Regions from separate parts of the Homo sapiens genome. Here region 2 is linked to region 1. Evidence: promoter capture Hi-C in 16 types of primary human blood cells and fetal thymus (Javierre and others, 2016). All regions are on one chromosome and are shown on one strand. The core of a region is centred on a gene start or on the middle of the fragment in contact, and the rest is flanking DNA. Distances in the headings are between cores, read along the strand shown.

Region 1 (6,602 bases), core at 3,360-5,859:
TCAGCTTCCCAAGTAGCTGGGATTACAGGCGCCTGCCACCACACCCAGCTAATTTTTGTATTTTTAGTAGAGACGGGGTTTCACCATCGTGGTCAGGCTGGTCTTAAATGGCTGACCTCATGATCCACTTGCCTCAGCCTCCCAAAGTGCTGGGATTACAGGTATGAGCCACTGTGCCCGGCCATCTTTTATTCTTTTTTAAAAAATTCATTTATTTATATATTTTTTGAGATGGAGTTTCATTCTTGTTGCCCAGGCTGGAGTGTAATGGCACAGTCTCAGCTCACTACAACCTCCACCTCCCGGGGTCATGCAATTCTCCTGCCTCAGCCTCCCAAGTAGCTGAGATTATAGGCGCCCCCCACCACGCCTGGCTAATTTTTTTGTATTTTTAGTAGACATGGGGTTTCACCATGTTGGCTAGGCTGGTCTCAAACTCCTAACCTCAGGTGATCTGCCCACCTCGGTCTCCCAAAGTGCTGCAATTACAGGCATGAGCCACTGGGCCTGGCCAGCATCTGTTATTCTTTAATATTGACAAAAACTCCCTTGACCAAACTTTTTATTCAGGCTCCTTAGGACTTTTTTCTCAACTAGGCCTCTACCTTGGCCCATATCCTGTCTTTGGCCTGCCCAACCCAGTCTTAGAAAGAATCTCCCCACCCTTAACGCATCATCTTAGTAATTTTCCACCCATTGACCCCCCTTCACTTTGTTCATTGGCTATAAATGCCCAGCTGTTGATGTTGTTTTCAGAACTGTGCCTGATCTCTCTCTCCTGTTGCAATGCTTCCACTGCAATCATCTTGAATAAAATCTTTCTTACCATTTTAACTAGTGTCAGAATAATTTTTTTCTTTCTTCTTTTTTTTTTTTTGAGATGGAGTCTTGCTCTGTTGCCCAGGCTGGAGTGCAGCGGCACGATCTTGGCTCCCTGCAACCTCTGCCTCCCAGGTTCAAACGATTCTCCTGCCTCAGCCTCCCAAGTAGCTGGGATTACAGGCGTATGTCACCACACCCGGTTAATTTTTGTATTTTTAGTAGACATGGGGTTTCACCATGTTAGCCAGGCTGGTCTCAAACCCTAACCTCAGGTGATCTGCCTGCCTTGTCCTTCCAAAGTGCTGGGATTACAGGCGTGCGCCACTGCAACAGCCCAGAATAATTTTTTTCTTTAACAATGCCTTCAAACAGTTGTTTACACACACACACACACACACACACACACACACACACTCCAGCTTGTATAGTTGTTTTTGGTGGGAGGGTTAGACAAGTTGGTACATTATGGCTGAAACTGGAAGTCTACTTACTTCTATAACAAACATGTATTATTTTAAACATTTCCTTTAAAACAATAATAACATGTTTAACGAGCTCATCTGGAACCAGTCTTCCCTGAAGGTTATTATTTTGAAAGTTTTAATGTCCTGTATAGATAATTGAATTGTCCAGGTTTTCTAGACGAGTACATTCCTTTGATATTTTCAAAGCCACTAATAGAATTACTCATATTTTTAAACTCCACAATTATGTTTATATATCCTTTCTTATGTCCAATTCTATGTTTTTTAATCTCTTTCCTTTTAAACTAGCTAGTATAGTATACTATAGAGTGTGATCTATGAAAGGCCTGCATTAGAATACCTGGGATGACACTTAAAAGTAGTAAGTGAATTAATTTTCTGAATCATCAATGGATACTGAAATCAGTAGGTGAAAGCTTTTTGGGGAAACAGACTGGTCAAACAGTCTCAGAGCATCACCCTCATGGATTACTTATTACATAAGAATCATACACCTTCATAATGGAGGGATCTGACAGTCACAGCCTCACCAGGTCATCAAGCTTAGCATCACCAACATACGCTTTCTGAAGTGAGGCAATGAAGTACTTAACATCACCAGCATATTCTTGCCTAAAATGTTTAACCTGGAATCTAACCATGAATCATACAGAATCCACCAGACAAATCCAGATTGTGGAGCATTATACTCCACAATTCCCCGGACCTTCAAAGAAGTCAACACAGTCAATAATATGTGAACATTGATTTGATCCTGGATTGGAAAAAAAGTCATCTGTGAAAGATATTTTTGGCCAGGCACAGTGGCTCATGCCTGTAATCCCAGCACTTTGGGAGGCCAAGGTGGGCAGATCATAAGGTCAGTAGATTGAGACCATCCTGGCTAACACGGTGAAACCCCGTCTCTACTAATGACAGGTGAAGCCAACTGGACTTCTGGGTAGGGTGAGGACTTGAAGAACTTTTCTGTCTTACAAGTGGTTTGTAAAATGTGCCAGTCAGTGCTCTGTAAAAACACACCAATCAGCACTCTGTGGCTAGCTAGAGGTTTGTAAAATGGACCAATCAGCACTCTGTAAAGTGGACCAATCAGCACTCTGTAAAATGGACCAATCAGCATTCCGTAAAATGGACCAATCAGCACCCTGTAAAATAGACCAATCAGCACTCTGTAAAGTGCACCAATCAGCATTCTGTAAAATGGACCAATCAGCAGGACATGGGCGGGGACAAATAAGGAAGTAAAAGCTGACTCCACCCCCCCCACCCCCGCCGGCCCCTCCCCTCCTGCCCCCACGCCCAGAGACTGCAACCACCCGTTGGGGTTCCTTTCCATGACATAAGGGCTTTGTTCTTTTGCTCTTCAGAAGAAGTCTTTGGGTCCCTGCCATCTTAAGAGCTATAAAACTCATCAGGAAGGTCCACAGCTCCATTCTTGAAGTCAGCAAGACCACGAACCCACCAGAAGGAACGAACTCTGGACACACTAAAAATACAAAAAAAAAAAAAAATCAGCAGGCTTGGTGGCAGGTGCCTGTAGTCCCAGCTACTCGGGAGGCTGAGACAGGAGAATGGCGTGAACGTGGGAGGCAGAGCTTGCAGTGAGCGGAGATCATGCCACTGCCCTCCAGCCTGGGCAACAGAGCAAGACTCCGTCTCAAAAAAAAATTTTTTTAGAGACAAGTGGAGAAACAAATATTAACTGTACATTAAATATTATACATAGGACCAGGCCTGGTGGCTCATGCCTGTAATCCCAGCACTTTGGGAGGCCGAGGCGGGTAGATCACGAGGTCAGGACTTGGAGAGGAGCCTGGCCAATATGGTGAAACCCCGTCTCTACTAAAAATACAAATAATTAGCTGGATGTGGTGACACGCACCTGTAACCCCAGCTACTCGGGAGGCTGAGGAGGAGAATCGCTTGAGCCCGGAAGGCAGACTTCATGCCATTGCACTCCAGCTTTGGCAACAGAGCGAGACTCCGTCTCAAAAAAAAAAAAATCATATATAGATGATTTGATGATATGGTTAATTTTGTTAGGTGTGATAATGGTATCATTAGTAGCATGATGTCCCTTTGTCTTTAGGAATTGCCGGCTGGCAATGGGGAAGGGGTTGTGCATCCACTATTTCAGCCCCTACTACTTTAAGTCTCTTCCCAAGCACGTTCCTCTCCCAAAGAAGTTACCATTCTAAATGCCTAACAGCTGGAAGTCCCCTCTGGTGGTTTCACAAGTGGAGTGATTTTACAGGAGAAACCCAGGTTTGGGGTTTACTATTTACTTGACGGCATTTGTAATCTGTAAGGCTCTTCCTGCAAAGAACAGGTGTTTCCAACTATACGTGCCTGGTCAAGGACTATTTCTTGGGTTTTCTACGTTCTGCTTTTGACAGCTGACTTAACTCAGGGCCTGCCTCACTGAAGGGAGAAAAAGGAAGGCCTCGGTCCCCCAATCATGATGACCGGGTTGTAAATACTGCCTGGGAAGGGATAATACAGCCTTTTCCATTGTGTGTGTGTTTTAGTTTTTAATTTTTTAAATTTCAAGCTTAGGCAGTGGTTCAGTGCAAGGACTGAAAAGCGCTACAAGAGAAGGTGGGCAAGCACGAGGGGTTTCAAATACAGGGGTGGAAGCAGTAGAAGGAAATGTCTCTTAGGCCCAGAGGACGGAACCAAAGGGTCAATTAGAAGGGAAAGGGACCTGCGGACCTGGGGAGAGGTCACTGGGGTTCTAAGCCTTCCACCTCTGCTTCCGGAATTTCCACGGGTTTCGCGGCCTTCTGGAGCGGCGACTTGGCCACGCTTGGGGTACAGGGTTGTGGGAAGTCATGTCATCCCCTCCCTCACGTGTTCCCTTGGCCATACTTTCCTGCCCCTCCACTTCCAGGCAAAACACTCCTCGGGACAGGCCTTGGGACATGTCCCAGATACACAATGGGGGCGCTGGACTTGGTGATAAGGGGCCTGCAGGAAGAAAAAGGCAGCCGTGAGAGCCGCCTGCAGATCCACGATGCATCTTAAAATTACAAATTCTCAGGCCCTACCCCAGACCTACTGAGTCAGAATACCCAGGGCACTGAGCCAGGGGGTGGGTGCCCGTAGGCCCGGCAGCACCCAGCCTGCAGAAGCTCCACCTCCGGGAGCGCTGAGCTAGGACCAGCTCCCCACGCCCCTGCCCTGGGGCTGCCGGGAGTCCAGTCCTGTTACACCTCCCGCGGCCGCGCACAGCGGCAACCCGGGCGTGCGGGGGCGCGCGCGGTCAGGGAGGGGCCTGCGGAGGCGCGAGGCCCCCGGAAGCGCCTTTCCCGGAAGGCAGGGAGGCAGCGCCGGCCTCCGGAGGCGGCCTGGGCGATGGCGGCGGAGTTTTGTCCATAACGTGGGCAACCGCGCAGCTGGAGGATGGCCTCACTCGGGCCTGCCGCAGCTGGGGAGCAGGCGTCGGGGGCTGAGGCGGAGCCGGGCCCCGCGGGGCCGCCGCCGCCGCCCTCACCGTCCTCTCTGGGGCCCCTGCTCCCCCTGCAGCGGGAACCTCTCTACAACTGGCAGGCGACCAAGGCGTCGCTGAAGGAGCGCTTCGCCTTCCTCTTCAACTCGGAGCTGCTGAGCGATGTGCGCTTCGTACTGGGCAAGGGTCGCGGCGCCGCCGCCGCTGGGGGCCCGCAGCGCATCCCCGCCCACCGCTTCGTGCTGGCGGCCGGCAGCGCCGTCTTTGACGCCATGTTCAACGGCGGCATGGCCACCACGTCGGCCGAGATCGAGCTGCCGGACGTGGAGCCCGCAGCCTTCCTGGCGCTGCTGAGGTGAGCGGCAGCGCGGGCCGGGCCGGGCCGGGCCGGGCCGGGCCGGGCCGGGCTGGGAGATCCCCGGGGCCCGGCCTACCCGGACTCCCGGATGACCTTGGGCTGGGCTCTTCTGACCCGCCCGGGGCCTCAGTTTCCTCCCGAGCCGTTGATGCTCCGGAGGGTCGAAATCGAAATCTGTGAACCAGGACGGCTCAGTCGCCAACTAAACGTTAGTGTCTTCATTAGGCAAGCGTGCGTTTTACCATTGAAAGGCGTTTCGCATTCCAATTATGGATTGTCGCTCAGACTTCAGAATTAGACAAGTGGCAAGGATAGAGGGGCAGATCAGGTTGTCCTGATTGCCCATTTGCGAAGTTTTATGTTTTTGTTTGGGGGAAGAGAGTAGTTGAAAAATCTTGCAGGACTGATGTTTTGGGGTTATTGTCACCCCCTTCCCCCCGCTTTTTTTGAGACAAGGTCTTGCTCTGTTGCCCAGGCTGGAATGCTGTAGCGCGATCATGGCTCACTGCAGCCTCGACCTCTCCGGGCTCAGGTGATGCTCCGACCTCAGCCTCCCGAGTATTTGGGACTACAGGCACGCGCCACCACGCCCGGCTAATTTTTTTTATTTTTATTTTTGGTAGAGAGAGGGTTTCACTATGTTGCCCAGGCTGGTCTCGGACTCCTGGGGTCAAGCGATCCGTCCACCTCGGCCTCCCAAAGTGCTGGGATTACAGGCGTGAACCACCGCGCCTGGCCACTTTTTTGTTTTTGTTTTTGTTTTTCATTAACGTATTAGTTGTCAAGACCCAGGAAAGTAAATACGAAAACAGACAAGTGAGGCTTTACCTGCTTTGTGTTTCTACACACAAGGTCACATTTGCTTATAAATGAATCCCTCCCTTGATGTTAGAATTTGCTTGTTGGTTATTTGAGGATAGTAGATTGACATCTAATGAAAAGGTGATTGTTTGGCATTACTAGCTTTTAATCACAGCCATCCTGTTAGGGAGGCGTAAGAATTGTTTACCCCAATTTCACAAATGGGACTGAGGCCCAGAAGAGTCAAGTATCTTGCCCAAGGTAACAAACAGCTAACTCACACTGAAGACCATGTCTGTTTCATTATACTAAGATGGTTTTAAATAGCTGCCTGAGTAGAACGTGTTGTTATTAAAATGGCAGAGTCTTGGGTAGTACTGAAGCAAAAACAGGCAGGTCAGTGGGACAGAATTAGATACAAAGGTTCACAGTTGAATCAGAAAGATGAACAAGAAAATGAATGTAAAGTTCACACAACTAGAAACAAATAATAAGATTCCATTGACGAATGGATAAAGGACAGGATAGATAACTTAGAGAAAGAAAAAATACAACTAATTAACGAATGTTTTACCTGGCTGGTAATTAGGAAGTGCAAATTAAAAGACAGTGGTATTTTTTCCTTCCATTAATCCCACCAAAAAATTTAAAGGTAACATCTGAACAGCATTTTCTGACAAAGATGGTG
Region 2 (6,533 bases), core at 167-2,666, 520 kb after region 1:
TTGAGAACCACTTGTCAAAGCAAGTTTTGAGCTCAGGAATCAGTGCGGTGGTAAAATCGGATTTGAGAGCACACAACTTTTGTGACATTGGACTAGATATTTAATATCTCTGAAACTTTGTTTCCTCTTCTCTTCTATAAGATGGGAAACTAAAATGCCTATTTTAGTAAAAAAGATCAGTGGTTGCCAGGGGTTTAGCAGGAAGGGATGAAGAGACATAGCACAGAGGATTTTTAGGGCAGTGAAACTATTCTGTATATGGTGGATACATGTCATTATACTTTGGTCCAAACCCATAGAAGGTAAAAGAAACACCAGGAGTGAACTCTGATGCAAACCATGGACTTTCGGTGGGGATGATGGGTCAGTATAAAAAAATGTTCCACTCTCATGCGGGATCCTGATAGTGGGGAAGTCACGCAAGTGTGGGGGCAGAGAGTATTTGGAGAATCCCTGTACTTTCTGCTCAGATTTACTGTAAACCTTAAAGCTTCTCTAAAAAAATCTATAGGGTAAGAGGAGAAATGCCTATTTTATTGGGATGGTCACATTAGATTTAAAATAAATCCATGTAACAAAGCTGGCTCTTGTTCTGTGTTAGAGAGAGGGCAGGCTCATCCTCTGGCTGCCCACAGTGACCCACAGCTTCCCTACCTTCTCTGCTTCTTTATTCTCTGGAGCTTGTGTAGTCTTCCCACCTTAGTATGTTCTAGGACTTAATTAACATGCTCCTTTTTCCTCCCCTCCTGCTTTCACAACCAGAGATGGCCATATGCATATCACAGAGCCCTTCCCCTTCCTCCTCAGTGCCCCTGTAGACACCATCCTGTCTCCCATTCCCTCCCATCACCTTACAGGGATTTAATCTTTCTTTGATTCACTGGCTATAGGCTGATGCAGTTCTCCTTCCTCTCTACTTTTCTTTTTCCTTTGTGTTCCTCTCCCCGCCAGCACCAACATAGCCAATATAGCCAATCTTTGACTCCCTTCTTCTTTTCTAGTTCAGATAAATGACTCACTTTGTGGCTTCTCTCACCTTTAGACCCAGATTCACCTTTCTAGCCTCATGTCCTACCTGAGCCTCACCTTCCTGTGGGATCCTTCTTCGGGATGTCCTGTAATCCCAAACTCTTTTGTGGGCAAAATTGGCTTTTTCATCTTCCAGTGAAATTGGCTCCCCTCTTGTAACTTCTGCCAGGTCCTCTCATCCCAAGACCGTGTAGGCCCAGCACCTACCAGGCCTGATTCTTCCTTGCTTGCCCATCCTGCTTATGCTGTCTGAGTACTGCAGACTCTTCTGTTGAAGAATCTCTTTGGTCTTGGCCTGTTCTCTGCTCGTTGCCACCAGCCTTGTCCAAGTCTTAATCACCTGTCCTTTGAAACTACTGTTTTTGCCTCCTTGCTGGTTTCTGCCTCAGATCTCTTCCTGCTTCAAGACATATTTTTAGATCTTCACTTCATTCTGGACTCCTCCACCTGCTCTACAAGGTTTTGTTCCAGGTTCAGGAGATTCAGAGGCAAAGGACATGGTCAGCCCCAGCCCTTTAAGACTCCAGGGATCTTGTATGTGACTTTCTACCCAACCTCTCGCCAGTCATTTCCACTGCTCTGGCACAAACCCTCTGAAGGCTAGGTTGGGCCAGTAACCATCTCATACAAATATCGTAAGCACTCCCACCCCTCTGTCCTTCAGGATCCTAGCCTTTAATTTCTCTGTGAGTCCTTCCTTTCTTGAGGACTTCAGATTATGCCCTTTTCATCAGTGTCCACAGCCCTTTGTTGGAACTACACAGTTGGAGGTTGAAATAGAATGCTGGGCTCCTGGGTTTGGCCATGTGGTACTTTTTTGCTTACTCTCCAGCATGAGTGAGTACTGTGTCCACTTCTACCATTCTGGACACATGGACTCAGTAAAATTCAACTCCAGTTGGGGTGGAGTCAGGGTGGTTTATTGGACGCCTGTGTGCCTGAGATTGGGCAACAGCACCTTTTCACCCCTGTAAGGGCGTTAGCTTAGCTTCAGTATCTCCAGAGCACGTACCTTGCCGTGCAAGCACCTCTCTCTCTGTGGCTCTCTGCCAGGGCTGATACACCTTTGGGTGGTTTTCAGGTGCAGGTGATCCCCTGGGTATTAGCCGACAGTAACTTTGTCCGGAGCCCATCTCAGAGGCTTGACCCCAGCAGGACGGTGTTTGTCGGTGCTCTGCATGGAATGCTAAATGCTGAGGCCCTGGCAGCCATCTTGAACGACCTATTTGGTGGAGTGGTGTATGCCGGGATTGACACAGATAAGCACAAGTATCCCATTGGTAAGTGTCCCACTTCTGTGTGCGAAAGCTTGGTTGGCCCCTGGGAGTAGACCAAGATTGTGATACTTCCCCATGGGAGTGAGGAGAGAGGCCTGACCCAGGTCTGCAGATCAGCATATACCAGCACCATAATATCTTTTTCTAGACAAGTCACGAGTACTGGCCCTTCTGTATCTAGCCCTCTACCCACCATCTCCCACGCAGTGGGAGAAAAAGCTATTGGAGACTACAGGAGGTGATAAGAAGTGAGAGTGAGGTAGGAACTTTGTTGGAAGCTCAGAGTTCACAGCGAAACCAGTTTGGAACAGACAACAGGTACTATTTCATGAAAAGGCTGCAATTCTCTGAACTTGCCTGGAGTTTTTTATTAAAAGTTCTTGAAAAGCTCTGGCATTGTCTAAGGTCAGAGACCAGGTCAGGCTGGAGGAGGACTTTCTGAGTGAGTCAGGCAACAGAGTGTGGCCTGTGCTTTCCTAACTCAGAAGTCTGTGGGCCTAACCACTAGGTTTTGATCAGCTCCTCTGAGAAAGGAGGTCAATTCGCCAGTCCTGGCAAAATGTCAATGATGAGGTATGGAGGTGGAGCAGAGCCTGACCTCTGTGATTAACATGTGGCTAACCCACCTCCCCAAATGCTTAGTCTTCACACCCACACTGAATCTGGTCAGGAAGGAGCACCATGTACTCACCAATACTGTGCAGCAGATTGAGAACAGGGACTTCAGAAGCCCCAGGAGCGGAGGAGGAACTTGGCAGGATGGGGCTTCTTCCAGCTCTCTTAATAGGTCTCCAGAGTGCCTAAGGGCTAGGAGAGGTTCAGTTCAACTGCTGGGCTTACCCTTCAGACAAGTGTTCTATCTGCATCTTGGCTTCCACTCTGAATCCTTTAACCTTAACCTATGCTCTACCTGCACTGAAGGAGTCCCTTATCTTTCCTTCCCATCTTGATCTGCAAATTCTTCCCCCATTCCTGAATGGTTCACGCTAACATGATCTCCACTGTCAAATATGGTACGAATATGGTAGCTACCAGCTAAATGTGGCCCCATTGAGTTTTGGAAACACAGCTGTTGTCACATTTGGAAATAATATTATTAACATATAGGGTTAAATAAAATTTTTTTTTTGAGATGGAGTCTCACTCTGTTGCCGTGCTGGAGTGCAGTGGTGCTATCTCAGCTCACTGCAACCTCTGCCTCCTGGGTTCAAGTGATTCTCCTGCCTCAGCCTCCTGAGTAGCTGGGACTACAGGTGTGCGCCACCACGCTCAGCTAATTTTTGTATTTTTAGTAGAGACGGGGTTTCACCATGTTAGCCAGGATGGTCTCCATCTCTTGACCTCATGATCCGCCCACCTTGGCCTCCCAAAGCACTGGGTTTACAGGTGTGAGCCACCGTGCCCGGCCAATAAAATATATTATTAAAATTAATGTCACCACTGTTTTAAAATTTCAGTGTGACTACTAGAAAATTTAAAGTTACATAAGGGCTGACCATGATGGCTTATACCTATAATCCTGGCACTTTGGGAGGCCGAGGTGGGGCAGATCGTTTGAGTCCAGGAGTTCAAGACCAGCCTGGACAATATGGTGAAACCCTGTCTCTACAAAAAAATACAAAAATTAGCCAGGCATGGTGGCTCATGCTTGTAGTCCCAGCTACTTGGGAGGCTGAGGCAGGAGATTGTTTGAGCCTGGGATGCAGAGGTTGCAGTGAGCTGAGATCACGCCATTACACTCCAGCCTGAGTGACAGAGGGAGACCCTGTCTCAAAAAATAAATAAAGTTACATAGTAGCTCACATTATATTTCTGTCGGACAGCACTAGTATCGTAAAGGGTTTCCTGCATTTTAAAAGAGTAGCATTAGGGCAGGCTCGGTGGCTCACGCCTGTAATCCCAGCACTTTGGGAGGCTGAGGCGGGCGGGTCACAAGGTCAGGAGATCAAGACCATGCTGGCTAATGGTGAAACCCGATCTCTACTAAAAATACAAAAAATTAGCTGGGTGTGGTGGCAGATGCCTGTAGTCCCAGCTACTCGGGAGGCTGAGGCAGGAGAATGGCGTGAAACCGGGAGGCAGAGCTTGCAGTGAGCAGAGATTGCGCCACTGCACACCAGCCTGGGCGAAAGAGCGAGACTCCATCTCAAAAAAAAAAAAAAAAAAAAAAAAAGTAGCATTTGGGAGAATTTGGTTAGAAGGGAAGCTTGTGTCTGTTGTCCTAGGTTCTGGTCGTGTGACTTTCAATAACCAACGGAGTTACCTGAAAGCAGTCAGCGCTGCTTTTGTGGAGATCAAAACCACCAAGTTCACAAAGAAGGTGAGTTGGCTGGTTTATGCCCTTACTCTGGGGTATATGAGAGGGGTTTGGGCAGTTACTACCCAGGGCAGGCCTGAGACCTGAAGCTGTTTGTGCTGGGTGTGTTTAGGGAAGTGAGCCAAATTCCTGAGAATTAACATTGAGGTTAGGGTTTGGGAGTGGGCTTGGTCTTTGTACGCCCAGGAGGAAGGGAACTGGGACTGTTGAGCCTCTTCAGTGTGTAGGGTGCCTTCCCTCACTGTGGTATTTCTTTGGCATTGCTCAGTAGCCTGACTTCCTATTTTCCAACCTTTTGGGAATCCTCCGAACACTTGCCTATACTGCTAATTGATAGAGGGCTGAGGTACAGTTTGCCTAGAAGACCAGGCATTAAGGTGTGTGGTTGCCTGAATCCCAGAGGCATCCAGCCTGACTGTGCATGGTGTATGAGTCTGTCCTCTAGAACTCCTTTCTGTACTTCAGGCCCATAATTCTCTCCAAGCCTCCTTTAAAACAGGCAAATATCCTGCATTCCAATATCCCGCATTCCTGTGTGTGGCCAATAATGTGCCCTTCTTCTATCGCCTATCGAGCCTCCTGGTAAGAAGAGCCACTTCATCATCTTATTTTGCCTTTGTGCAGGTTCAGATTGACCCCTACCTAGAAGATTCTCTGTGTCATATCTGCAGTTCTCAGCCTGGTCCTTTCTTCTGTCGAGATCAGGTGGGTCCGATGTCTATGAAGTCCCTGCCCTCTATTAAAAATTGTTGGCTGGGCGCGGTGGTTCACACCTGTAATCCCAGCACTTTGGGATGCCAAGGTGGGCGGATCAGGAGGACCAGCCTGGCCAACATGGTGAAACCCCGTCTCTATTAAAAATACAACAATTAGCCTGGCGTGGTGGCAGGCGCCTGTAATCCCAGCTACTTGGGAGGCTGAGGCAGGCGAATAGCTTGAACCCAGGAGGCGGAGGTTGCAGTGAGTCGAGATCACGCCACTGCACTTCAGCCTGGGACAGAGCGAGACTCCGTGTCAAAAAAAAAAAATTGTTATGCCAAGTTCATGACATTGAATGTTGGAGTTCTGAGGTACCCTGTGGTGTCTGAGAGCATAGAGGAGGCAGCAGTAATGTTTGCTGAAGGTCAGACCGGGACAGACATACTTTAGATAGCTTGATCCAGAACTCTTAAGAAAATATGTTGAATTGAGTCTTTATACTTTGGTCTTTTTCTTGCCTGGGATATTGCTATGCAGTATGCCACTATTGCTGAGAGGTGGTTTTGTAGATGATGGAAGCCTGGCTGGGTGTGGTCAGCAGCACGTGGGAGCCAGGCTCAGCTGCCTAACCCTGAAGCCTTCTAAGCTGATTTTTCTGTAAAGGAGGATGCCTCGTCCTCCTTTACATCTGAACTTCTGGACGACTTTGATATTTGCATCTGGGCTGTACCCACAGGTGTCAGCGACAGGCAGAAAGCAGCGAGGTGGCTTTCTATTGAATGTTCCTGGGTGATGGAATGTGGATCTGGATGTGTTTGGCAGTGCTTCTCAAACCTTAATTACAGACACATCACCTGAGGATCTTAGATTCTGATTCAGTGGGTTTGGGGCGGACCCTGAGATTCCATGTGTCCAACAAGTATCCAAGTGGTGTCAATGCTGCTAGTCAGTATCATCCTTTGACAGGTGTTAGGGGAAGTTTGGGACCTCTTAGGACACCAGCAGCAGTCCTTCCATGCTTAGTGGGTGCTTTTTAAATTTTGTTTAAAAATTTGTTGCAGTGATGCCATTGATCAGATTTGGAGTCTCTGAATATGGTTAAACTGAGGCTCTCAAGTGAGAGTTTGAAGTTAAGTTTGAATTGTTAGTTAAAGCCTGAGACCAAGTATCTCTCTGATCAGCCTCATCTACGAGGCTTTTATGGATCTGGA

What was found. The method cuts DNA at HindIII sites, captures the fragments that hold promoters and counts their contacts. A CHiCAGO score of 5 or more calls a contact.
Region 2: a contact is called between a fragment that was not itself captured here and the fragment with the promoter of BTBD1 in region 1, in 11 of 17 cell types (total CD8 T cells, naive CD8 T cells, total B cells and 8 more). The highest score is 13.4, in total CD8 T cells.

The regions. Positions count from the first base shown.
Region 1 is chr15:83,065,259-83,071,860 of GRCh38, reverse strand. It overlaps BTBD1 (BTB domain containing 1), which reads left to right and starts at 4,609. Exons shown (of 8, transcript NM_025238.4): 1 at 4,609-5,110. The coding sequence starts at 4,710. It overlaps MIR4515 (microRNA 4515), which reads right to left and starts at 4,526; the gene lies at 4,446-4,526. RefSeq lists silencers at 2,476-2,525, 4,402-4,881, 5,122-5,291 and enhancers at 2,430-2,724, 4,162-4,211, 4,222-4,341. The HindIII fragment of the contact is 13,987 bases long and covers 3,861-6,602 here.
Region 2 is chr15:82,545,236-82,551,768 of GRCh38, reverse strand. It overlaps CPEB1 (cytoplasmic polyadenylation element binding protein 1), which reads left to right. Exons shown (of 13, transcript NM_001365242.1): 10 at 2,111-2,309; 11 at 4,532-4,626; 12 at 5,248-5,328. Among named protein-coding and RNA genes, the nearest start is that of RPS17, 8.0 kb to the right of the region's middle. The HindIII fragment of the contact is 1,847 bases long and covers 493-2,339 here.